4 separate regions of the Homo sapiens genome follow, and all the other regions are linked to region 3. Evidence: promoter capture Hi-C in human tissues and cell types (Jung and others, 2019). All regions are on one chromosome and are shown on one strand. Each heading gives the region's core, a stretch centred on a gene start or on the middle of the fragment in contact. The rest is flanking DNA. Distances are from core to core; before and after follow the strand shown.

The links. Contacts are between HindIII fragments. The study calls those that stand out against the background at their distance.
Region 1: a fragment that was not itself captured here is called in contact with the fragment with the promoter of THBS2 in region 3 in 1 of the 25 tissues and cell types used here (IMR-90 fibroblasts).
Region 2: a contact is called between a fragment that was not itself captured here and the fragment with the promoter of THBS2 in region 3, in 1 of the 25 tissues and cell types used here (small bowel).
Region 4: a fragment that was not itself captured here is called in contact with the fragment with the promoter of THBS2 in region 3 in 2 of the 25 tissues and cell types used here (H1 embryonic stem cells and heart left ventricle).

What each region holds. Positions count from the first base shown.
Region 1 is chr6:169,735,748-169,742,304 of GRCh38, reverse strand. DYNLT2 (dynein light chain Tctex-type 2) reads left to right here. Exons shown (of 4, transcript NM_174910.3): 4 at 2,010-2,196. The coding sequence ends at 2,120. Among named protein-coding and RNA genes, the nearest start is that of DYNLT2, 13 kb to the left of the region's middle. The HindIII fragment of the contact is 6,025 bases long and covers 939-6,557 here.
Region 2 is chr6:169,689,470-169,696,257 of GRCh38, reverse strand. The region is part of intron 1 of WDR27 (WD repeat domain 27); the gene reads left to right. Among named protein-coding and RNA genes, the nearest start is that of WDR27, 9.2 kb to the left of the region's middle. RefSeq lists an enhancer at 3,131-3,631. The HindIII fragment of the contact is 7,100 bases long and covers 1,473-6,788 here.
Region 3 is chr6:169,250,766-169,257,228 of GRCh38, reverse strand. THBS2 (thrombospondin 2) reads left to right here and starts at 3,383. Exons shown (of 22, transcript NM_003247.5): 1 at 3,383-3,505; 2 at 6,423-6,463. The coding sequence starts at 6,445. RefSeq lists enhancers at 3,797-4,308, 4,309-4,821, 5,334-5,847. The HindIII fragment of the contact is 15,923 bases long and covers 1-6,463 here.
Region 4 is chr6:168,925,860-168,932,464 of GRCh38, reverse strand. LOC105378146 (a long non-coding RNA gene) reads left to right here. Exons shown (of 4, transcript NR_136250.1): 4 at 4,621-4,724. Among named protein-coding and RNA genes, the nearest start is that of LINC01615, 230 kb to the left of the region's middle. The HindIII fragment of the contact is 7,573 bases long and covers 1-6,605 here.

The DNA of each region.
Region 1 (6,557 bases), core at 2,702-5,201, 480 kb before region 3:
GCTGGCTGTGGCCTTGGCACAGTTTCTTCATCTATAAAATGGTGATGATAAAACTGGCTTCCTAGAGCTGTTGTGAAGATTAAATGAAATTATCTGTATTAAAATCCTTAACATAATCACCAGCACAGAGCCCTCAATAAACAGCAAGGTAATTATAAACATTATTTATTAATAAAGAGATAATATCACTAGGCTGTGTAATTATGTAAGGAGTTGGTAAGGAATATGTGGGAGTTGGAGAGAAAAGAGAGAAAAAGCTGTGTTTGGAAGAATCTGTAGAGGTTCCATAGAGGAGTGGACTGCATGATGAAGCATGGGGAGGGGGACCTGGACTGGCAGAGGGGTACTGGCGAGAGAACCGCCAGTCAGCAAGAAAGAACCGTCCTGGCTCCCATGGAGAAGAGAAGCTGCACCACATATGACATACAGACTTAAGAAATAGGGACGTTGTAGATGATAAGTGCTACAAAGAGAACATTAAGGTAGGGATATGACAGAGTAGCAGAGTGGCTACTTGGGATTGTTTAGAGAAGGGAGAACCCTCTGATGTTCAGATAAGAAGGAACCAGCTGTACCAAAGAGAAGGGAGAATGTTCCAAGCAGAGAAAACTTCAAGTGCAAAGATCCTGAGGCAGGGATGACTTGGAGTGCTTGATATGTAACAAGTGTAGCTGGACTAGTAGCTAGTAGATAGTGGCATGATGTGCAGTGGGGGAATGTTTCAGCTTATATTATTGTATAACAAACCACCCCAGAACTGAGTATCTTATAACAACAGCCATGTATTTGCTTACTTTCTGTGAGTCAGCTCAGCCTGGGTCAGCTACTTGGCTTTTCTGCTGGTCTCACTGATGCACTTGTAGCCCTCTAATGACTTACCTGGGCCTGCAGGTCCAAGATGGCTTCTGTCACTTGTCTGACTGGTGGGCTAGCTGTGGCCTGGGCACCTGGGTTCTCCTGCATGTGAGCCAGCATCCTCCAATAGGTTGAGTGGGCTTTCATAACATGGGGGTCTCAGCATAGTGTTCCACGAGTGTGAGAGCAGAAGCTACAAGACCTCTGAAGGCCTTGCTTGGAAGTTTCACAGTGTCATATTTTACAACTCATAGCAAGTCACAAGGCCAAGACTTATTCACAGGGTGGGGACATAAAGTCAACTTCCTAATAGGAGAAGCCATAAAGAATTTGGGCCTTTTTCGGCCAGACGTGGTAGCTCATGTCTGTAATCCCAGCACTTTGGGAGGCTGATGCGGGTGGATCAGCTGAGGTCAGGAGTTCAAGCAGCTTGGTCAACATGGTGAAACCCCATCTCTACTAAAAATACAAAAATTAGCTGGATGTGGTGGCAGGCACCTGTAATCCCAGCTACTCAGGAGGCTGAGGCAGGAGAATCACTTGAACTCAGGAGGTGGAGGTTGCAGTGAACCGAGATCACGCCATTACACTCTAGCCTGGGAAATAAGAGTGAAACTATGTCTCAAAAAAAAAAAAAAATTGGGGCCATTTTAGATCCTCCACAAAGAAGTGGGCTGGAATCAGATCACATATGGGTTTGTACACAGAGAAAAGGAGTTAGAATTGTCCGTAACAGCCTACTTGTATAGTTACTGCCATTTCTTCATTTCAAGGCAAGGCCCTGACAAACCTCTTTGGCTGAAAATCTTTAAAGGGTGGGAAGACTTCCTTATCATGGACTACATGGCAGAGTCATACTGTATGCAGAGCCACTACATCCCCATTCCCAGGGGCCTTCTGCTCCTGGCCCTGGAAACACAGCTAAGGGAGCCTCTCTCTGTTTAGAGAAAGGCCAGCCTCCGGTAAAGAAGAAGGATGGGCTGGGGCAGCGTCATTCTCCAGGCTCTTTATGAAAGGGAAAACCAGACAAATTACATCTTAAAAATAATTTCTGAGATACTGATGCATTCATTTTTAAAAAACTAGTGTAGATTTGAAAATTACTTCTTAATATGTTCAATCTAAAGTTGGTCTTTACAAAATTTCTCTCACAGATTGCCAGCAGATGGATCTGGGACATTGCATGGGACAGCTGGGTCGCAGCTAAACACGAAGCAGAATCCTACGTGGCACTGGTCTTGGTGTTTGCCCTTTATTATGAATAGCTCATTACAGGTACTAAGGATTGTTTACTTCCGAACTTTTCAAAAATAAATGAAATTTACATATTTGTAAACCTCATAATATTTCTGATTTGCTATATTCTTATTCTCATTTGAGGCCTTTCAATTGTATTATTTTAACAACAAAGTAGAAGCCAGATTTTTATATTTATACTTACTGTTATATTAACTAACATAATATTATGCCAAAGTAGTATAAAAGGTGTATGCATGTGTGTCTGTGTGTGTATATATGTATGTATATACAAATTCTTATAGTAGAGTATAGGGAAAATATCATTTTTGTAAGATTTAAGAAAATGATAATTTGCTACAGGAAATTAAAATGCAACCTTGTAAAGTATCAAATTCAGTAGATGTTAAGATAGATTTTGGAAATTTCTAATGATATTTTAATACTTTGTATTCATTGTTTTGAAAGGAATTACCAAGTTTGAAAGAAAGATGTTATTATATTTCATAATTCCCTAATATCCTCCCGCTCCAGCCAAACTGCTTACAAGTGTGTAGTCAATTTACTAATCTATTAGGCTCTGTTAGGCTCTGTGAGCCTTCTAGGATCTTTTTTTCAGATGCAAGAACTGAAAATTCATATTAATTGTTTAAAGAAATGAGGAAAATTTTATTTCCCAGGGATTTGATCAAGGATCCAGGTTCTCTCCAACTTCCCATTCTCCCCACAGACTTCCACGTACATTCATTTTGCTTGACAGAATTTAATCATGTTCCTATGACTAGACCAGTTGTAATTCCCTCCTTAAGATTGGGGCTGGAGCCTACCTTTTCTGAAGCGTGAGATCATGTGAAAAGTGTGGCTATTTGCCAGCCACAGTGGCTCACTCCTATAATCCCAGCACATGGGAAGGCCAGGGTGGGAGGATTGCTCTAGCCCAGGAATTTGAGACCAGCCTGAGCAACATGGCAAGACTCCATCTCTTAAAAAAAAAAAAAAAAAAAAGGAGAAAATTGTGGATCCAGTGTACAAATTGGGACTCTTCTAGCAGGGAGGCAGGGTGTGCACTTGTGGGAGGCAAGCAATACCTGTGATAATCAGTATGATTTTCATCATTACAACCAGAACTGAAAACAACCATGTCAATATTGACAAGTAAAAATACCTATTAGTTGAATTATCTATAAACAAGGAGATAAAAATGGCAGAGAAGGGTTTTTTTTTCCACTTAGGTTTTATAATGAGTTGGTGTCAGTTTCCACTTATGAGAGTTAAGGAGCTGAAATATGATTCCTGCCTGAATAGATCCAAATGGAGTTTGGCTGCGGGAGTGCATGAAAGTTTGGCCAGAATTATTCTTAGAAAATCACTCCAGCTCCCTCCTGCTGCCTTGTGAAGAAGGTGCGTTGCTTTCCCTTTGCCTTGCGCCATGATTTTAAGTTTCCTGAGGCCTCCCAGCCATGCAAAACTAGGGGTGGGGCCAAGACGGCCGACTAGAAGCAGCACCATGTAGGAGGCTCCTATGGGAAAAAAAGCATAAGCATGTGAATCCTTCACCAGCAACCAAGGTATCCAGGTTCTCTCATCAAAATTGACTAGAAGGCTGGCATTACCCACACAGAGAAGGAAGAGCAGTGTGGTGTGGCAGCCCACCTGAGAGCCACATGGGGAAGGGGAACCCCCTTCCCCCAAGCCAGGGGAGGTGGTGAGTAAGAGTGCTACCCAGCCAGGGAAACTGTTGTTTTTCCATGGAACTGTGCAACCCACAGATCAGAAGATTCCACTTGCAAACCCACGCCACTGGGGCTAGCATCACAACCCTGGAACGCGCAGATTCGTACAGCCTCTCAGCTGGAATCTGCTTAAGCTTACCCAATTCCCATGAGGAAGGGTGGCCAGCACTGGCTGCAGCTGCCTGATGTCTAAGCCATTTGAACTCCTTGTGGGAGGGGCAGCAGCCAGCACTGGGACTTGCAACTGCCTAACATGCTAAGCCCCCTGGGTAGGGGAAGGGCAGCACCCATTTCTATAGTTCCAGGCTGCGCTTTTCCCCTGCTGGAGCCAGGCAGGCTGGACAGCTTGGTCCCATGACTTGTCCCCACAGCCCAACACACCAGCTGTGGCAGTCTGCGGCCAGAGTGCCTCTTCAGGTCTAACTCTGACCCATCCTTCCTCAGTGGCTTTCCTGCAGGATCTCCAATAACTCCAGCCAGAGGCTCAGGGACAGAATTTGGATCTCCCTGGGCCTGAGACCCTAGTGGGAGGGGTGGCTGCAGTCTCTGTGGACCAGCAGGCTTAGCCTCTCCTCCTGGTAGTTCTGAGTAATCCAGGCAGCCCAGACAAGTGGGTTTCCCCCAGTGAAACATACCCTCTCTACTAAGGGACAAATTGCTTCATTAGATGGGTCCTGCTCCCTGTGTCACCCAACTGGGTGAGACCCTCCAACAGGGGTTGTCAGATACCCTATACAGGAGTGATCCTACTGGCATCAGGCTGGTGCCCCTCAAGGTCAGAGGTCCCAGAAAAAGGAGCAGGCACCCATCTTTGCTGCTTTCCAGCTTCCTTGAGTGACATCTCCAGGTATAAGAGCAAATCAGATGAGTAGGGCCATTCACCCCAGCAAACTGCAGCAGCCCTACAGAAAAGGGGCCTATTTAAAGAAAAACAAAGAAGCAGAAAATGACAACAACAACAACAAAAAAGGCCCCCACAAAAACCCCATCTAAGGGTCAGCAGCCTCAAAGACCAAAACTAGACAAACTCATGAAGATAAGAAAGAATCAATGAAAAAAATGCTGAAAACCCAAAAGGCCAGAGTGCCTCTTTTCCTCCACATGATCACAGTGTCTCTCCATCAAGGGCACAGAACTGGACGGAGGATCAGAGGGATGAATTGACAGAAGTAGACTTCAGAAGATGTGTAATAAAAAAATTATGATCAACTAATGGAGCATGTTCTAACCCAATGGAAAGAAGCTAAGAACCTTCATAAAAAGTTAGAGCAATTGCTAACTAGAATAACCAGCTTAGAGAAGAACATAACCAACCTGATGGAGCTGAAAAACACAGCATGAGAACTTCGTGAAGCATACACAAGTATCAACAGCAGAATCGACCAAGTGGAAGAAAGGATATCAGAGTTTGAAGACCACCTTACTGAAATAAGATATACAGACAAGAATAGAGAAAAAAGAATGAAAAGGAATGAACAAAGCCTCCAAGAAATATGGGACTTCATAAAAAGGCCAAACCTACGATTGATTGGAGTAGCAGAAGGAGATGGGGAGAATGGAAACAAGCTAGAAAACACACTTCAGGATATTATCTAGGAAAACTTCCCCAACCTAGGAAGACAGGCCAACATGTAAATTCAGAAAATACAGACAACACCATTAAGATACTCCATGAGAAGATCAACCCCAAGACACATAATTGCCAGATTCTCTGAAGTTAAAATGAAGGAAAACCTGTTAAGGGCAGCCAGAGAGAAAGGCCAGGTCACATACAAAGGGAAGCCCATCAGACTAACAGCCGACATCTCACAGAAACTCTATAAGCCAGAAGAGATTGAGGGTCAATATTCAACATTCTTAAAGAAAATAATTTTCAACCCAGAATTTCATATCCAGCCAAACTAAGCTTCATAAGCGAAGGAGAAATAAAATCCTTTCCAGACAAGCAAATGCTGAGGGATTTTGTTACCACCAGGCCTGCTCTGCAACAGCTCCTGAAAGAAGCACTAAATATGGAAAGGAAAAACTGGTAGCAGCCACTGCAAAAACACACCAAAATATAAAGACCAATGACACTATGAAGAAACTGGATCAACTAGTGTGCAAAATAATCAAATAGCATTATGACAGGATCAAATTCACATATAACAATACTAACCTTAAATGTAAATGGGCTGAATGCCACCAATTAAAAGACACAGACAGGCAAATTGGATAACGAGTCAACACCTGTCAGTGTACTGTATTCAGGAGACCCATCTTACATGCAAAGACACACAGGCTCAAAATAAAGGGAAGGAGGAAAATTTACCAAGCAAATGGAAAGCAAAAAAAAAAACAAACAAAAAAACGAAACAACAACAACAACAACAAAACAGGGGTTGCAATCCTAGTCTCTGTCAAAACAGACTTTAAACCAACAAAGATCAAAAAAGAAGGGCACTATGTAATGGTAAAGGGAACAATTCAACAAGAAGAGCTAACTATTCTGAATATATATGTACCCAATACTGGAGCACTCAAATTCATAAAACATATGCTTAGAGACCTACAAAGAGACTTAGACTCCCACACAGTGATAGTGAGAGACCTTAACACCCCACTGTCAGTATTAGACAGATCAATGAGACAGAAAATTAACAAGGATATTCAGGACTTGGAACTCAGCTCTGGATCAAGTGGACCTAGTAGACGTCTACAGACCTTTCTACTCCAAATCAACAGAATATACAT
Region 2 (6,788 bases), core at 3,773-6,272, 440 kb before region 3:
TGTTGATTGCTTGTTCTAGTCTTACTTCAGGGTTCAGTCCCGATAGGACACAGATCACTGTGTAGACGTATGCAGGGAATTGTCATTTCGTTTCTACAGTTTTCATTTTGTAGGCACTTGTATTCGTTTGTTAATTCTGCTGTGACAAACTAATGCAGATTTGGTGGTTTAAAACAGCGCAAATGGATTATCTTACGGTTCTGGAGGTCACAAATCCAAAATGGGTCTCAAACTGCTAAAATCAGGGTGGCATTGGGGCTGGCTCCTTCCAGAGTCTTTGGGTGAAAACTCCTTTCTGTGCCTTTTCCAGCTTCTAGGGCCACCACAGGCCTCAGCTCCTGGGTCCTTTTTCTGTCTTGAGAGCCGGTAACCACAGCAGGTTGAGTCCTTCTCACAGTGCATCATCATCCCAACTCTTCTCTCTCTAGCTTAGTTAAGGAAAGTATTTAAATTGAATATACCCAGAGAATCCAGGATAATCTCTCTTCTGAAGCCCATCTGATTAGTAACCTCAATTCCCTTGGCTGTGTAGCCTAATGTTTGCAGAGGTTCTGGGGATTAGCATGCAGACATCTTAGGGAGAGTGTTACTCTGTCACCACCGTGCCCCGGGGTATTTAGACTCCTCACCATTCAGCTCATAGGTACTATTTTATGTAATTGGTGCAAAAGGGCAACACTGGGTGCTCTGTAATCATTTAGAAATGAGAGAAACAAGATGGCTTTCTGAGTGTTACCCTCTAAAATGGACACACTGTGGATTAGAGAAGCGATGTCTGTTTCTTCCACAGTTACTTGAAAGAAATTTTGGTGCAATGCCTAGAGGAAGCCACAGTTGATGTTTCAGCATTTGACATAACGTATCCAAAACGGAATCTATGCTTCTCCCCTGCCAAACCTGTTCTTCCCCAGCTCAGTAAGTGGGGTCTCTTGTTGTTCAGGCCAGAAAGCTAGGAGCCACTCCTGATTCCTCAAATTCCTCTTCAGCAACCAACCCGTACTGGCTTCCATCGGTCCTAGCTCAGAAATAACATGTGGTGTCCATTTGTTTAAACCCTGCTCTTAGGCTCCAGCACCAATGATCTTTTGAAAAATAGAAGTTTTAAATTTGTAAATATTTATTCCATTAAAGTTTTTGTTTACCCTTCTTGATATTTTTATACTTCTAAGCATTACTATTTTTGTTGTCTTAGCATCCACATCCTGTTTGGGCAAAAGCACCTGGATTTCCTCTGGGCTACCACCCTTCTCCCTCTGCTGGCCGGGACTCAGTGGAGAGGTCTCTGTCCCAGGCCTGACTTCTTGGCATCATTTCATCCTTCTGATTACGTGATTAATTCAAACATGGAAAGTGTCTCAGACTGGCCCAGACTCATGAGAAATGTTCAAGGATCAATGGAAAGAGATGCTTTCTTCCGCAGCGCCCTGCAACGGTGGGAGGCCACACTCAGGTGCTGCCGCCCATCTTTTTGCCACTGCATAGGAACAGACAATGAGCAGCACCTAGACAGGTGGAGCTGAGGGTTGGGGAGACCAGGGGGCCGTCCTGACGGTGTCGGTGAAGCTGCTGTAGCCAGTCATGTGCTATAACTGTTTAATTACATATTAAACTCCTTTTCTCTCCATTGGATTAGGTTGAGCTTGCTTTCTCTTCTGAGACATGAAGTAAACTTATTTTTCAATGTTATTTTTTAAAACATCTGCATTGTATTCCACTCAATGTAAGAACCGTTGCTACATTTCATATTATAATCAATGTTATGATGGACAGCCTTGAAGAAATACATTTGGGAAAGGTAGAATGATTTACTTGTTATAAATTTATAAAAGTAGAATTTTTGATTGCCAGATAGTTAAGTTTATGTCAGTTTATTCTTTTACCAGCAGTGTATGTGGAAATGTTTCTGTGTGCGTGCGTTGATGACTTATTTATTTATTTATTTTTTTGAGACAAAGTTTCGCTTTTGTCACCCAGGCTGGAATGCAACAGCGCAATCTCGGCTCACTGCATACTCAGCCTCCCAGGTTAAAATGATGATACTCCTGCCTCAGCCTCCTGAGTAGCTGGGCTTACAGGCGTCTGCCACCACGCCCGGCTAATTTTTGTATTTTTAGTAGAGAGGGGGTTTCACCATGTTGGTCAGGATGGTCTCAAACTCCTGACCTTGTGATCTGCCCACCTCGGCCTCCCAAAGTGCTGGGATTACAGATGTGAGCCACTGCGCCCGGCATGACTGTTACATTTAACAAGGCACAAATACATGTTAATTTTATTTGTTCTACGGTGTAGTTTAAGTCCATTCTTTCTTTGTTAACTTTCTGTTCTGATGACCTTTCTAGTGCTGTCAGTGGAGTATTGAAATTCCCCAGTATTATTGTGTTGCTATGTCATTTCTTAGGTCTAGTCATAATTGTTTTATGAAGTTGGGAGCTTCTGTGTTAGGTGTGTATATATTTAGGATTGTGATATTTTCCTATTGGACTAATCCTTTTATCATTGTATAATGTCCCTCTTTGTCTTTTTTTTTTTAAACTTGTTGCTTTCAAGTCTATTTGTTTTGTCCTATGTAAGAATAGCTTTTCCTGCTTGCTTTTTGTTTCCATTTGTGTGGAATATCTTTTTCCTCTCCTTTACCTTAAGTTTATGTGAGTTCTTATGTGTTACATGAGTCTCTTGAAGACACCAGATACTTGATTGGTGTATTTTTATCCATTCTGCCATTTTGTATCTTTCCAGTGGAGCACTTAGACCATTTACATTCAGCGTTAGTATTGAGCTGTGGGGTACTGCTCTATTCATTATGTTAGTTCCTGCCTAAATACCCTTTTTTCATTGTGTTATTGTTTAAGGGCCTGTGAGATTTACGTTTTAAGGAGGTTCTTTTTTGGTGTATTTCAAGGTTTTGTTTCAAGATTTAGAACTCCTTTTACCATTTCTTGTAGTGCTAGCTTGGTAGTGGCAAATTCTCTCAGCATTTGTCTAAAAAGACTTTATCTTTCCTTCATTTGTGAAGCTTAATTTTGCTGGATACAAAATTCTTAGCTGACAATCATTTTGTTTAAGGAGGGTAAAGATATGACCCCAATCCCTACTGGCTTGTAAATTTTCTGCTGAGAAGTCAGCTGTTAATCTGATAGGTTTTCCTTTATAGATTACCTGATGCTTTTGTCTCACAGCTCTAAAGATTCTTTCATTCTTCCTGACTTTAGATAACCAGATGACTGTACCCAGGTCATAATCATTTTGTGATGAATTTCTCAGGAGTTCTTCGAGAGAATATCAGCTGCTGTGTTAGAAGGGGTATATAAGCTTTCCCTAAGTTGGCGAGGGGAGGCATTCTGGTTTCTCAGGTGATGAGCAGGGCCTTAGGGTTCCCAAGAGTTTATGTCTTTTGTGTTTGGCTACCAGGGTGGGTAGAGACAAACCATCAGATGGGGGCAGGGTTAGGTGGATCTGGGCTCAGAGTCTCCCTGGGCAGGGCTTGCTGCAGCTGCTGTGGGAGACGTGGGAGTGGTTCTTGGGCCAATGGAGTTATGTTCCAGAGGGGATTGTGGCTGTGTCTGACGCATCACATAGGTTGCCAGGGAAGTGGGGGAAAGCCGGTAGTGAAAGGCCTCACCCAGCTCCCATGCAGTTTGTGAAGCTGGTCTTGCTCCCACAGTGCCCAGCTAACAGCACCAGGTTTAGATGCAGACAGCCTGTGTGTGGGACTCAGCCCTGCCCCAGGCCATAAGTTCTGCACTGAGAAAACGAGCATGGCCATAAGTTCTGCACTGAGAAAACGAGCATGGCTGGCTTTCAGGTCTTGCCCCTCCCCATCTGTCCACAGTGTTGGCAGCTCCTGTGCTCATATCTGTAGCACTTCCCTTTTACCCACTCCTGATTCTGCTCAAGGAAGTTCATGCCCAGTCTAAATTATCACATAATTCAGTTGGAAGCTTCTTTCACCCTATGACCTCTCCCTAATTCCTCTGGCTGTCTTTTCTGAGGGAGGACCCCTATGAGATACAGTCAGGGATGGCTTCCCTGGACTGGAGCTGGAGACTAGGAGTGCCTACAAGGCTCTTCTCACTGCTGCTTCTACTTTTATATTTCGCTTGGCTGCCTAAATATGCTTCAGCTCTAGGTAAGGTTACATCCTTCTCCTGTGATATTGATTTTTAGATTCCCCAGTGGGGGTGTTTGGAGGCAGTTTTCCCCCCTCTCACATTTTGGGAACTCACAGTTTTTTGCCTGTCTCATGGAATTTGCAGTGGCCTGCTGCTTCTTTAAAAGGATCTGTGAATTCTTTCATTTTTTTTGGTACATTCCTGCAGTGGTTCTTGGAACAAAACTTCACAGTATGAGTATCCACATGCCTTTCAGTCCATCCTAGTGGGAGATGCACATTAGTCCTGTCTCCTAGCTGCCGTCTTCTTGCCTAACCACTTTAAAGGGTCACTGTAATAATGATAATCTATGTACTCATATATAGAAACCTGCTTATTAATGTCTACAGAAGTGGTTTGTAAACTGCAAATTGGCATACAAGTACTATTATTTGTAAAATGCTGCTGAATTCTATAGGAATTACAGAAGAGAATAAGATAATTATACTACAACAAAAGTTTATGTTGAAGAAAAAGATGGAACTCAATCACAATTTGATGAGTGTATTATTAGCATTTTTGAAACAACTATAATTTTTTATGTATTCTTCATCTGTCTCCGAAGATGTTTTATGTTTTGGGAAGCAGTGGATCTGGTGACAGCAGGTTCGTATTGTTCCCTTAGGACACATCTGCCCAGCACCTACTGCCATGCTCAAGTTACAGAGTCTACTGAGTAACTGTGGTAGCTTTGGAAGGTGTAGCTATTTTCATATGACACTCAAAGTATCTTTGCAAATATTAAAAAAAAAGTGAGATAAAAATTGTGAATTGGAGACAAATTTGCTTTAAAATAATGTACACATGCTTTTATTTTGTTTTTCTCCAAATATTGAGAATTTTCAAGCCTTTAAAAATTACGTTTTTTTAAAATTTAATTTAATTTAATTTTTTTGAGACAGAGTCTCGCTCTGTTGCCCAGGCTGGAATGCAGTGGCGCGATCTCGGCTCACTGCAAGCTCTGCCTCCCAGGTTCACGCCATTCTCCTGCCTCAGCCTCTTGAGTAGCTGGGACCACAGGTGCCCGCCACCACACCCTGCTAATTTTTTGTATTTTTAGTAGAGACAGGGTTTCACCGTGTTAGCCAGGATGGTCTCGATCTCCTGACCTCGTGATCCGCCCGCCTCGGCCTCCCAAAGTGCTGGGATTACAGGCGTGAGCGACCGTGCCCGGCCTCTTTTGAAGTATTTTCAGAAGATGATCTCGAGTGGTCCATTCTCCTTTGCTTCACTTCTCTTGTGAAATTCTGCTCCCCCCTGCACACAGGAAATTGTTACTGCTGCCCCGCCCGCAGCACAGAGGTGGTACTGAACGGTCACACCTTGCACTGGAATGTCAGACTTCTCAGTCAAGGGGCTGGGAGGCAGGCAGCGGAAGGTCCTGCTGATGAGTAGCACCCTACAGTGCTCTTTCTTTCTATGCAATTCCTGTCTGATCAAGGGTCCTTCAGACAAAGGATTCCATCCTATCAGTCTGGCCATGGATCCATGTCCTGCTGCCTCCTAAGGGCAAAATAGTTTAGATTGTGTGAAGTGCTGGGAAGGAGGTGGATGGGGTAGGGGGGCAGGGATGGGAGCCAGCTCTCAGGGGCCTCTGCTGAGACCTGGAGAATGGGAAGAGCTCCCAAGGTGCAGAGATGAGGAGGAATGGAACATGAAGATAAAGTGTGCGTGCTGAGGCAGTAAAAGCCCTGCTGTGTTGTAAGAGCTGGAAGAAAGAGTAAATAGAGTAGCAGTGGAGGGAGGAGCTGGAGAAGAGGAAGAGAAAGGCAGAGGCTGGGTTAGCAGAATCTCTCAGGGCCAGCATGAGGAGCACACGGGTGGATTTTTCGAATCCACGTGACCAGTGTGATGGCTGCATGGGTGTATCCTTTGAATCCACATGACCAGCATGAGGGCCTCATGGGTGGATCCTCTGAATCCATATGACCAGCATGAGGGCCTAATGGGTGGATCCTTTGAATCCACATGACCAGCATGAGGGCCTCATGGTTGGATCCTCTGAATCCATATGACCAGCATGAGGGCCTAATGGGTGGATCCTTTGAATCCACATGACCAGCATGAGGGCCTCATGGGTGGATCCTCTGAATTCACATGACCAGCATGAGGGCCTCACGGGTGGATCCTGTGAATCCACATGACCAGCATGAGGGCCGCATGGGTGGATCCTCTGAATCCACATGACCAGCATGAGCGCCACATGGGTGGATCCTCTGAATCCACGTGACCAGTGTGAGGGCCTCATGGGTGGGCCTTTGAATACCTACAGCGTGCATGACCCCACTGGATATTTGGGTGCTTGCCCATCACTTTCTAAGCAGGTCTGTTGTCTGTGCCTTCAGGTGCATCTATTGCCGGCCTGCAGTGGGGTGTGGGGTACAACAGAATCAAGGATGACCCCAGTGCCATTCCCACATGTTTCTGAAGTGATTATGCTGTGAAGTTAAGTGTAAAGTTGGATGAAGATCTGAAACATTTTATCTTTGTCAGTGTTTCATTAGTTTATGCTTTACGAAACATAGCCAGTGAATCACTGATTATAGAACCTGTGGTAGCTTAACTGTAATTACATACAGTGTTGTGAAATTGTTGAATCAAGCCCAGGTTAGTTATGGGAGATGCGGGTTCCAATTGCAG
Region 3 (6,463 bases), core at 2,134-4,633:
AAACCATGATATGCTACAGAGAAACGTTTTATAAAAGAGTCCATAGATGCAGCAAACTTCATTGTGGTCTTACTCTAAGAACCTGCTACAGACACTCCAACCATCAGCAACCACCACCCTGATCAGTCAGCAGCCACCAGCATTGAGGCAAGACTCTCCACCAGCGAAAAGATGACGGCTCATTGAAGGCTCAAATGACGGTTAGTAGTTTTGAGCAATGAAATGTTTTAGAATTAAGATATGCACATTGTTCTCTTAGACATAATGCTATTGCACCCTTAATAGACAATAGTGGAGTGTAAACATCCCTTTTATATGCACTGGGAAAGCACAAATCCATGCAACTCACTTTATTGCAGAGGTGTGGAACCGAGCCTGCGGTATCTCCAAGGTGTGCCTGTATTAGTTCCCTGGGCCCGCTATGATGAAGTATCACAAACAACACACATGTATTGTCCCATGGTTCTGGAGTCCAGCAGTTTTAAATGCAGTGTGTGGCAGGGCTGCACGTCCTCGGAATGTTCTGGCAGAGGCCCCTTCCCTGTCTCCCACAGTTCTGGTGTTTCTGGCAGCCCTTGGTGACCTTGGCTAGTGGTTGCATCACTGTGGTCTCTGCCTCTTTCATCAAGCGGAGCTCGCCCTGTGTCTCCGTCTTCATATTCTTTATTCTTATTAGAACACTAGCCATTAGATTTGGAGCCTGTCCTACATCAGTTCGACGACATCTACACTTGATTTCATCCACAAGCACTGTGGTATTTCCAGTAAGCTCATTCACAGGTTTGGGGTGGATGTGAACTTGGGGGGACATGATTCCACCTGCTGCGTGTCTGTCCCTCATCCTCCCGCGCACACATGTGATGATGCTTCCCTCAGCATCGCTGGCTTTCCTGACGAAGCCTCTGACTGCTTTTTGTTTCATCCTCACATCTCCCTTCCTCCTCACCCCCAGGGGGCCCAGGGAAGATGCTGACCAGGGGCTGTCCCCTCTACTCCCCCTCTGGTCCCCTGCACAGTGGGCCCATGAAGTCCCGCCTCACCCTGCCAGGAAACTCTCTGTGACTTCCATCGTCTATGAAGCCCATTCCATGCACCTGGCCTGGGTGCCGCACCAGGAGCCTGCTGTTCTTTGCACCATGAACACCTACCCACTCTCTCTGCCTGAAATACTTTCTCAACTGGGGACACCCCATTCACGGGCCATGTTCCAATCGGCTTACCTTCTGTCTCCTCTAAACAGACTTCCCTGATTCTGGGCTGCCAGATTTTACAGAAGGAGGCCCATCTTCTCTGTACCTGCCCATCGGCACGTGGAGTCATGAATACATACCTTCCTGCTCCCCAGTGAGTGTCACGGTCTTCACCGCATGCTCCTGAAGTGCTGAGCAGCTGAGCTGCCTGTCTTCAGCTTTAATCAGGAAACACGCATTCTGTGGACTGAGGAACAGGAGAGGCCGTGGCACGCAGAGTAGGGGATGCCGCCCTCCATGTTCTGGCCCCAGGAAAAACTAACCTGGAGGCAGAAAAACTCAAACTGATGAATGGATAATTATCCACTGAAAATTCTTTAAGGGGAACTGGTTTATACTTTTTTTGAATTTGAGATAACATCAATCTATTTAAACTACTTTTTAATTCAAATGATGACTTTGTCCCTAATAGCTTAAAAAGCAAAATAACGTACCTTAAACATGACACATACACTCTTGGAGGCTTTTGTCTGTGCATGTGTCGGAAACTGATGTTTGCCAAGTGATAAATAAACAGGTGCCATTAGGAAAAACAGAGGTTTTCACAAATGAAAGCTCCTTCCCTCTCCCACACCCGCTCGCATATCCTCCCTGAAGACAGAGGCCAGAAAGTGAGGCTTGCTCTTCATGGTGCCTGCCGACCTCTGCAGCGCTGGACCCCTGTGGGGGAATGCCAGGAGGCTTAAGAGACACTCCCCTGCCACAGACACAGTAAGGGTTGTGTCCACAGAAATTCGCTTTAATGTTCTCTAACTAGGACTTGACGGATCCATGGCCAGGCTGACAACTCCACACAAACGTGAAGGAACCTGACAGGCAGGTGCCGACATGAAGCAGGTGCAGGTGGCTCCGGGCAAAGCAGCAGCTCCCCAGTCACCATCCACCCCACCTGGGGAAGTAGCACCTCCCCCATCCAAGGTCCACCCCAACCCAGGAGAAGCAGCAGCTCCCCTGTCTGCCATTAACCCTGACCTGGGAGAAACAACACATCCCCAGCCACCTTGCACACTGACCTGGGAGAAACAGCCTCTCCACCATCCACCTTTCACACTGGCCTGGGAGAAGTGGCACCTCCCCCATCCACTGTCCAGCCCAACTTGGGAGAAGCAGCCCCTCCCCCATGTACCATCAACCCCCACCTTAGAGCAGCAGCTTCCCCTTTCCACTGTATACCCTGACCTGGGAGAAGCAGCCCCTCCGCATCCATCGTCCACCCTGACCTCTGAGAAGCGGTGCCCCCCACCCCCATGCAGAGTGCACCCTGATTGCGGGTGATGCCTGAGGTGTGGGAGGGGCGGGGGTTAGCTGCTGCCACTGCTTCTCGTTCTCTCGAGTCCTTGCTCTGTGCCTGCACGTCAGGTTGTTCCTGTGATGGGGCCACGTGCAAGTGTGCACCAAGGGGACTTGGCCGGGTACTGTACGTCCACTGGGACACACCCTTCTACGGGTATTGCACGTCCACTGGGAGACGTCCTTCTAGGGGATCCTCACTGAGCAAATGAAGCAGAATTTGGGTAAAAATGAATTTTCCCAAAGCTGCAGTACAGCTTTTCAGTCCTCTAACTGCCTGAGATAAATGTTGGCAACTTCCTTTTATATTAAATTTCATTTTTGTCACATAATACACTTGATTATTGACCATAATAACTTTATTAATATACAGACTGATTATTGATACTCACCGATGTATTTCATGTGTTATTGAGAGTCACTCATTTGGTTTAGAAAGACCAATATCACATTGAGTAATTCGAAACATATTTAAGGCATAGAACTTGCATTTTTTTCTCTTAAGCAAAATGAGGAGTTCTAGCCAATCTTGCTAGTGTTATTTATAGCATCTTATTTCCTGAGAGAAGACAGGAAAAGTGAGTCCCTGCCTTCCCTCTCTCCGTCTGGCTCCTCCCAGGCCTGTCTGGCAGGGGCCGGGGTGCAGGAGGAGGAGACGGCATCCAGTACAGAGGGGCTGGACTTGGACCCCTGCAGCAGGTACTCGGAGCAAATGGTGAGATCAGAAGGGGGATGATGTCATTCCTTCGAAGGAATGAATTAAACGTGCTTCCTCGTGTGTCTGATTGACAGCCCTGCACAGGAGAAGCGGCATATAAAGCCGCGCTGCCCGGGAGCCGCTCGGCCACGTCCACCGGAGCATCCTGCACTGCAGGGCCGGTCTCTCGCTCCAGCAGAGCCTGCGCCTTTCTGACTCGGTCCGGAACACTGAAACCAGTCATCACTGCATCTTTTTGGCAAACCAGGTACGATTATTTCTTAAACTCAATCAATTATTTAATGGTGCTCTAATTTTAAGAAATTAGAGTTCTCGAACTCTAAGAAGCGGAGAAGAAAAAGGAGCAATTTCGATTCTTAACTTAAGGTGGGTGGTGTATCTATTAACACTAAATGGCAAGTGTTTCTTCACGTGGTGTTTCTACTGCCCGCTTGAAGAGCAAGGCACGTGGCCGCTCCTCAGCTTTTCCTCCGTGGCTGTGCTTTCACCAGCCGGGCACCCCTTCCTCTCTGAGGGTTGTGGCTGCTGCTATTTCAATGTATATACCTGCCTGGGAACCCGGGTAAACGCTTTATGTTTTCAGTTTCCGAAGAAGAAGATTCCACATGAGAGTTTGTTATTGAGGAGAGAATTAGAAACAACTCCCGGAATATCTGAAAAGTAACTGGAGATTAGAGAGAGACTCTGATTGTTAACATCATTATTAGTAGATTAGAGAGAGACTCTGATCGTTAACATTATTAGTAGATTAAAGAGAGACTCTGATTGTTAACATTATTAGTAGATTAAAGAGAGACTCTGATTGTTAACATTATTAGCAGCTGAAAAGTGGTTTTGAACATAACTAGAGAGTATTTGTGGTAAGTCTATGGAAAATCCTGTGACTGCCGGGACACACAGCGACTTTTAACAGTCTTGGGGCAGTTTGCATATGAAAAGCGAGCTGGCAGGTTGCCTGGCTACCACTTAAGGAAGGTGGGTTTGGCTGCCCAGGACTGGGAGCTGAGCACCCAGGAGTCTGGTGTTTAATCAGACTGCTGTTGGTGGTGGACGGCCGGTAAACAATTAGCTCTCTGCAAAGCTATCTTTTACTTTGATTGTTCATACGAAAAGAGTTTTAAAAGACCTTTGCAAATTCAAACTACATTCTGCTGCAGACAGGCACCGAAATCTTTCTTTTGGAAAAACACAAGCATAAACGTGGATGTGTGGCGTGCAGAGGCTGGGGCAGGGGTGAGCGGCACTGGCTCATCCGTGGCTCCATCCATGCATGCCCGGTGTCCCTGGATGGGCTGAGGCCAGGTAGCCTGGCTGCTCATCCTTCCTGTGGGATGGAGCCTCACTGTCCTTTGACAATCCGCAGCAGGGGATGCTTTGTTAGCCTCCTGCTCTTGTAAGAATCTACCTCAAGGCAGAGACAGTAGGATCTGGTTTCGTCAAAGGAGTTTGATTTAGTTTTTCTAACCTGTCCTTATGAAGCTGGGCATCCAGAACTTTCGCATTTACCATCCTGTTCTTGGCTGGCCTCTGCAGGGCCAGCCCCACACAGCTGTCCTTAGGGGACTGCGACGTACCCGGCAGTGTGGGCTGATGAGGTGGGGAGGTGGGAAGAGCCTGCCAAGGCTGTACCTGAGCTGTGTATTCTAACACCGTTCTGTGGTGCTTACTGCATGCAGGTACTGTTCTAAGCTCATGGCCAAGTGTTCGCTCCTGTCATTAAACCCTCTTAAGAGCTCCATAGAAAGGCCCTATCAGCACCACCATTATTACTGCAGCTGCCTCGGGCAGTTAGAGTAGAAAGCGCCCCAGACCCAGAGGCACATTCTGCTCCGGTAACCCATGCCTGTGGCTCGCTGGGCTAAGTCAGCCCCTGGTGAAGTTTCATTTGCCGAATTCATCTCTCATGACAACCCGATGAGGTGGGCATTTTACATGACGCTACGTTTCATTCTACGGATGAGGAAACTGAGACAGAGAAGTTAAGTAAGTTTCCCTAGGTTGCACAGCTGGTGCTCAGCATTGCTCAGCCTGGTGCTGACTCCGGCCGCAGGCCGTGCTGCTTCCGGAGCCAGGACAGATGAAACAATCACCAAGGACCCCTGGGGCGGCACTGGGGGGAGCAGATGGTTTGGGGGGGGGGTCCCAGCAGCAGATGGGTGGGGGGTCTGCAGGTGCTGCCAAGCATTTCTCTTCTTCTGAGGAATGTTTCTCTATTCCTGGAAGGTGAGGATTTCCAGGTTACCAAATGTTGTTTCTGGAGAGGGAGAGTCCTTGGATTAACAATGAGAAGTTAACGGCCTTTGATATTCTAAATATGGGAAGAATTGGGGTCTCAGTCTTCCCTTCAACCTAGAGCAGGGTGTGACCAATTGCTGGAAGGGACCTGGGGAGCCCTGGGACCCTCAGGCTCATGCTCGCCCGGAAGAGGAGAAGCTGAGATCCACAGGGTTAATCGCCCAGCCGGGCTTTGGACCACATCTCCTGACTTCGGGGCCAGCCTCCACTGAGCTGTGCCAACTTAAAATCCCCAAGAATGGAAAAACAGGCCTGCAGGAAAATAAAGAGGCAGGGTCAAAATGATGGCTAAGTCAAGTGTTCTGTTGTTTTGTAAGTATAATTCACCAAATTAAGTTTATTTGTAACTTTTTTTTACAGTTGATATTCATTCTATTTAATTAGGTTATGCATAACTGTTTTTTGCTGGATATTTACACAAAATGCGTTCACAGATTATTTTTGTCAGGCTGGATATTTTTCTAAATTCAAACTTTCTACATCTAAGTCCTGTCTACGAGTCGTATGAACAGAATTACTCCAGGCAAGCGCTGAACTTGCCCATCTTCCATTTGCTCATCTGTAAAATGAGGACAATTAGAGCAGCACATACCTCCCAGGCTATTATGAAGATGAAATAATAGGAATATTTAGAACGTGATGTGCAGTGCTTGCCGGCAAATGCTAGCTCAACAAATCTTATAGTTAGAAGAATCCTGCTTGAAGAGTAAATTTCCTCCTTCGCTCTCAGTTTGCCACAAATCCAGTTGGTGCTGAGTTTTATATGCAAACTGTTATTCAATGGTCATGTGAGTCACTGGGCCAGTCTCGCTCACAGGCAGGGTTGCAGCTGTGGACTCATCACTAACAAGGGTTTCCTGTATTCCCAGGAGCTCAGCTGCAGGAGGCAGGATGGTCTGGAGGCTGGTCC
Region 4 (6,605 bases), core at 1,591-4,090, 320 kb after region 3:
TAGATTTCCAGTGCGTTCCTGTGGCTCCAGGGCCCAAATATTCCACTCCTAGATTTCCAGTGCGTTCCTGTGGCTCCGGGGCCCGGCTATTCCACTCCTAGATTTCCAGTGCATTCCCGTGGCTCCAGGGCCCGGCTATTCCACTCCTAGATTTCCAGTGTGTTCCCATGGCTCCGGGGCCCAAATATTCCACTCCTAGATTTCCAGTGCATTCCCGTGGCTCCGGGGCCCAGCTATTCCACTCCTAGATTTCCAGTGCGTTCCCGTGGCTCCGGGGCCCAGCTATTCCACTCCTAGATTTCCAGTGCGTTCCCGTGGCTCCGGGGCCCAGCTATTCCACTCCTAGATTTCCAGTGCGTTCCCGTGGCTCCGGGGCCCAGCTATTCCACTCCTAGATTTCCAGTGCGTTCCCGTGGCTCCGGGGCCCAGCTATTCCACTCCTAGATTTCCATTGCGTTCCCGTGGCTCCGGGGCCCAGCTATTCCACTCCTAGATTTCCAGTGCGTTCCCGTGGCTCCGGGGCCCGGCTATTCCACTCCTAGATTTCCAGTGCGTTCCCGTGGCTCCGGGGCCCAAATATTCCACTCCTAGATTTCCAGTGCGTTCCCGTGGCTCCGGGGCCCAAATATTCCACTCCTAGATTTCCAGTGCGTTCCCGTGGCTCCGGGGCCCAAATATTCCACTCCTAGATTTCCAGAGCGTTCCCGTGGCTCCGGGGCCCGGCTATTCCACTCCTAGATTTCCAGTGTGTTCCCGTGGCTCCAGGGCCTGGCTATTCCACTCCTAGATTTCCAGTGGGTTCCCGTGGCTCCGGGGCCCAAATATTCCACTCCTAGATTTCCAGTGCATTCCCGTGGCTCCAGGGCCTGGCTATTCCACTCCTAGATTTCCAGTGGGTTCCCGTGGCTCCGGGGCCCAAATATTCCACTCCTAGATTTCCAGTGCGTTCCCGTGGCTCCGGGGCCCAAATATTCCACTCCTAGATTTCCAGTGCGTTCCCGTGGCTCCGGGGCCCAAATATTCCACTCCTAGATTTCCAGTGCGTTCCCGTGGCTCCGGGGCCCAGCTATTCCACTCCTAGATTTCCAGTGCGTTCCCGTGGCTCCGGGGCCCAGCTATTCCACTCCTAGATTTCCAGTGTGTTCCTGTGGCTCCGGGGCCCGGCTATTCCACTCCTAGATTTCCAGCGCATTCCTGTGGCTCCGGGGCCCAAATATTCCACTCCTAGATTTCTAGTGTGTTCCTGTGTCTCCGGGGCCCGGCTATTCCACTCCTAGATTTCCAGTGTAGAAAAAGTCCTTCCACAAGGGTCTAATGGGATGAAATATTGGAAACAAGTAAACGTCTACGAAAACACTGGACTGTGTGAATAGTAATGCATTCATTGATGTGGTAATAAATAAACAGTGTCTACACACCTCAACCTGAATTAATCTCATGAGGAACATGTTTAACATATGAAGCCAGTCATGAAAAATGTATAATGTAAGATTCCCCTTATACACATTAAAAAAATAGATCAATATCAAATATTGCACAAGCCTCCATACATTTGTAGTAAAATACGAATAGATGTTTGGGAAGAATAAACACCAATGCAGTCAGTGATAACTTGAGGAATGGGAGAAGGCAGCGATGGAAGTGAAGCCTTTGCTTTGCAGCATTTGCCACATTTCATGTCTTCTGCTAGTGGCTTGTACTCATCTATTACCTCATTATTCATAACTGCTTTGAAATATTTCATTAGACCTTTAAATACTGTTAGTCAAAGAGACAAGAGGTTCAGCAAATGAGCAATAGATAGAAACGGGAGAGAATCTTAAATGGATAAAAAACGGGCTCCTATTCTTGGTGTACGCTCTGAATACAACATTATTTCAGAGAATAAATTGGAAAAAGTCCCCAAAACATACCACAAAATTAAAACAGTGTTTTAGTATGACACAATCAATAATGGTTAGTTGTTTGTTTTTGTTTTCATATTTATGCTTTTTTGTAACTGCATTTTAAAATATATATGCTGCTGGGCTTCACAGTTTGTTTTTTGGCACAGGATGATACGTAGCCAATGAAATAATTCATCTAAGTAACTTTTAAAAATTAATTAAAACGTGAAATGCAGACAACCTCCCCATCCAGTGAACCTCAAGGAGACCCAGCTGCTGACGAGAGCCGACCTCAGTGTCTGGTTGAAGATGTCAAGAACAAGATGTTCTCATGCATGGTTCTTGTTTCTTTCCTCCAGAAAACAACTAATTGAATTTGTCTGTGCTTGGTTTTGTCTATCTCCACCCAATCTCTGGTGCCTGTCGGGGGCTTGGCCCACAGTAGGTGCTCCCTGTCCATTAGCTAAACAGATGGCAGTGGACATGGCAGCTGATGGTGGTTAGAAGCTGGCACCTGCCAGATGGAAAGGAGAAAGCCCGGGTGAGATGCTGCTGTTCCCCGGCTCTCGGGCACCATCTGCACGCACAGCGTATCAGAGCCTCTCCAACAGCAGTCATGATTTGTACTGGAGCCGTGCAAAGAGGGAGGGTTTTGTTACTTTCATGACATGAAATGCCCAGATGTCTCTAAGTTCCTAAATAAATATTCTATTTATAACTAAGTCTAATCTTTAAAGTTCTGATACTCCCAAATATTAAAGAATGTCATGGGCCTAGACTATTACTACCAATGATAGTTATCTTGTAAGCATTAAATTCTTTTTTAACAGATGACCAGAAAAACTGTAGATGGGTCTATTTCATATCATTCCAGTTTCCAGCAGCTCCTTTCCTGAGCTGGGCCTGCAGCCACAGACCCTCAGCTCAGGCAGGAGGCATAGGAGCTGCCACCATGTGGAGCCAATGACTCTTTGTCTGAACCTACCTGTATTAGTGTGTTTTCATGCTGCTGATAAAGACATACCTGAGACTGGGCAATTTACAAAAGAGAGGTTCAATGGACCCAGTTCTGTGTGGCTGGGGAGGCCTCAAAATCATGGCGGAATGTGAAAGGCATGTCTCACATGGTGGCAGACAAGAGAAGAGAGCTTGTGCAGGGAAACTCCTGTTTTTAAAACCATCAGATCTCATGAGACCCACTCACGATCATAAGAACAGCCCAGGAGAGACCTGCCCCCATGATTCAATCACCTCCCACCAGATTCCTCCCACAACATGTGGGAATTCGAGATGAGATTTGGGTGGGGACACCCAAATAATCTTATGATTTTTCAGCCCCTGTATTATCCACATGGCACCTTCTGTTACTGATGCTTAAGGAGTGGCTTTCTCATTCCCATGGCATGTGCCTTCATCAGCTCCCTGAACAAGGGGTCAGCTCGAGGTGCACTTCCCCAGCCTGCAGGGTTTTCTCACCGGAAGCCTCAGTCTCTCTCCTGAGCAGAACATCCTTGACAAATGCCATGTAGGACTTTTTAACAGGGCCATCTTGCTTCTCCTTCTGAACATGAACACCCGGAAAAGTTGGCAGCAACTCAGATCCACAAAATGAGCAAAGGACTTTCCGTGCAGGTGATCTGTTTGGCGGCTGGTTTACCCCCACAAAGAGAGAGCTCCAACAGATGCTTCAAGAGCGCAGTGAATTTGCCACTACTGTTATTTCATCTTATTATAGATGTCTAAAAAAAGAAAATATTTTGGAAGGTGTTCCAGTCTTAATGGGAAATAAGGCCTATAAATTTAAAAAGATAGCCAAGCAGAGGGATCCACAAAGTGGCAGAAATGTGAAACCCCTTTTCCTAAATATACAGTATGTCTTTAAAACAGTACACATGCAGTATATACCACTCATTGTATATTGGTCATTGAAGAAAAAATTCAGATAGATAAATATAGGTAATTAGTACATGTAGACATATTTTAAATTATTAAAATAAATATATGGGGAAAACATCTTTGATTTAGGTGAACACTGAGCCTCTACTAAGCAGCATTTAAAATGTTTTTGAAGCATTCTTTCCTAATTCCTTTCGGCAAATCCTTTTTAAATATCTGATTCCATTTACTTAAAACCCTGCCAGTGTTACAGTATCCGCGGAAGAAGGCGTTTTCATTACTCTGATACTAAATTAAAAGCTTTCTTTGTCCTTCTGTCTAATATGGAGCACTGGCATTGCCAGCCCGGCACAGTGGCGCTGGATGACAGGGACTACACCAGAATCATGAGGGCAGCCATCCTGGGACCGAGGGAAAAGGCACAGCATTTGATTGGCGAGTCTGTTTCTTGTCTCCGGGCTGCTTTATGCTTTTCCCTCCAGCATTGTGGCCCCTCCATCCCCAAGTTTATAGCATTCTGCGAGCCTCGGGTAAGAGAGTATTTCCATCACTGGCCCTGGTGCATGAAAGCCACACTGCCAACTTGTCATTATCACCAGTCTGGGTTCCTTTCCGATGGAGTAAGGGAAACTCCAGGCCCAGACTGGAAGAAGCTTATCTCCGCCGGGGAAATGTCTGCAGGTGACTGAAGCTTTCGTTCCACCATAACACATTTCAAGAGCACATATTCACTCACCCCAACACTTAGTAAGGACCCGTTTACAGGAAAACACTTATTTTGAAGCATACGTCTCAGCCAAAAGATACAGAGTGCTAAGATGTTCCATTCCTTTTTAAGGAGATTCCACTGGCCCTTTAAGCAAGAAACGACTTCACAGTTGAAACCTTGGTTTGGAAGACTCTTGTTTCAAATCTCGGCAGCATCCAATGAGCCCTCCTCATCAGCTGATGGTGGTAAGCACCTAGGACTTGGGCCAGTAGAACGAAGGAAAGAAACACAACCATTTAGTAAAAAGGTACCATAAAACATCGGATCTGCCGTTTGTGGCTGTGGGTGTTTTGGAATGTGCACACACACGGGGTTTTCCTCTCCCTGCCACCGCCTCCTTCTCTTCTCACTCTTCACACAGAAGTAGCTGCATATCAAGAATTGGTCTTCCCAAAGCCTAGGCTTTCAGGAGAACTTGGAAGTTTTCAGACAAAAAAGAACGGTGTTTGTAAACCAGGTAAGTCTTGGAAAGGGCATCTTGGAAGTGGCTGGGATAGAAAAAGGACCCCGGTGCATGCCAGCACCATGACAGACGGAGACCCCTCCTCCGTGTGCGGAGGGGAGGTCTAAGCATTTGGAGACAGTTGGAGACAGTCCTTTGCTTCTTGGCGTGAAGTAAAGAAGCATCAGACAGGAATATAAGGTGTGTTTAGGAAAACCGGGTCAACAGACACCTTCACAAAATAGTTCTGGGGCCCAGCCTGGTGGGTGTTGTAACTAGAAGGCCAAGCGAGCAGAGAGATGTTGTGGCCTCAGGAGGTCTGACCGAGAGGATGAGGTTTGGAGCCAGGCAAGGAGTTCAGATGCCAACTCCCTTCCTAATGCTATGTCGCCTTAGGCAAGTTACTTCACGTCTCTGTTCTTAAGCTTCCTCATTTGTAAAACCACGCATCCCTCTGAATTTATTGTAAGGATTAAATGAGTTAATATTTACCAAGCATTTGAAGCAGTGCCTGACACTGGGTGAGCATTATATAAATACTAGGTAAATAACCTATTGGCCCCGTGCAAGTCTCCTAAACTGAGGCATACATCTGAAGAATAATTAAAGTTAGGTTTACCCCAATCTTAGTGAAATTTGAGCTCAGAAATACAAAGAAATAGCATTTTCAATAATAAGGCTAGCGATAGTTATTGCATACTAAATACATGGACTGAGATTTATAGGCAATATCACTGCAGATACAATGGCTTTGGAAGGTTTCCTCTCGACGATGCTTCAGTCTTTTAGTTGTGATGTGAGTGTGTGTGGGGTGTGTGTGCATGTGTGTGCACTGTGCACACTGTGCGTGGTGTCACATGTGTACGTGTTGCTGTGCGTGCGTGTGTGTGCATCATGCACACTGTGCGTGCGTGTGTGGTGTCACATGTGTATGTGTTGCTGTGTGTGTGCATGTGTGTGTGCGCATGTGTGTGTGTGCATTGTATCTCGTGTATGTGTCGCTGTGCTTGTGTGCATGTGTGTGTGGTGTCACATGTGTCTGTGTTGCTGTCCTTGTGTGCGTGTGTGTGCACTGTGCACACTGTATGTGTGTGTGGTGTCGCATGTGTACGTGTTGCTGTGCTTGTATGCATGTGTGTGTGCATTGTGCACATTGTGTGTAGCGTTGCATGTGTACGTGCTGCTGTGTTTGCATGCATGTGTCTGTGTTGCGGGTGTGTGTTCCTGCATGCGATGGTTCCCATTGCTGGGCTCATTCTCAGCCCCTGAGAGACAGTGCTCACAGATAAACTAAAATTCCCACTCCAAACAATTTGGTCAGAATCAATTTACATATGAATGTGTGGGTAACGTTTCCTTAACCAAAAATGTGAAGAATTGTGCTATTCTTTTCATGCTAACAGGCAATAATTAGCAGTGAACTCGTTAAGCTAGTTTTGTTTTCCGCTTGTGCTTGTTTACGTCTTTATTGGTCAGGGCCTAAAATGTGCCTCAAGAACTGCAGAAGAGCAAAATTCGGCAGAGGGAAGAGGAAGGAGCAGAAGATGGAAGGAGACCGGAAGGATGTTGTCAAACACATCAGACTCAGAAGTGGCGCCCGGCCTGCCTGTGT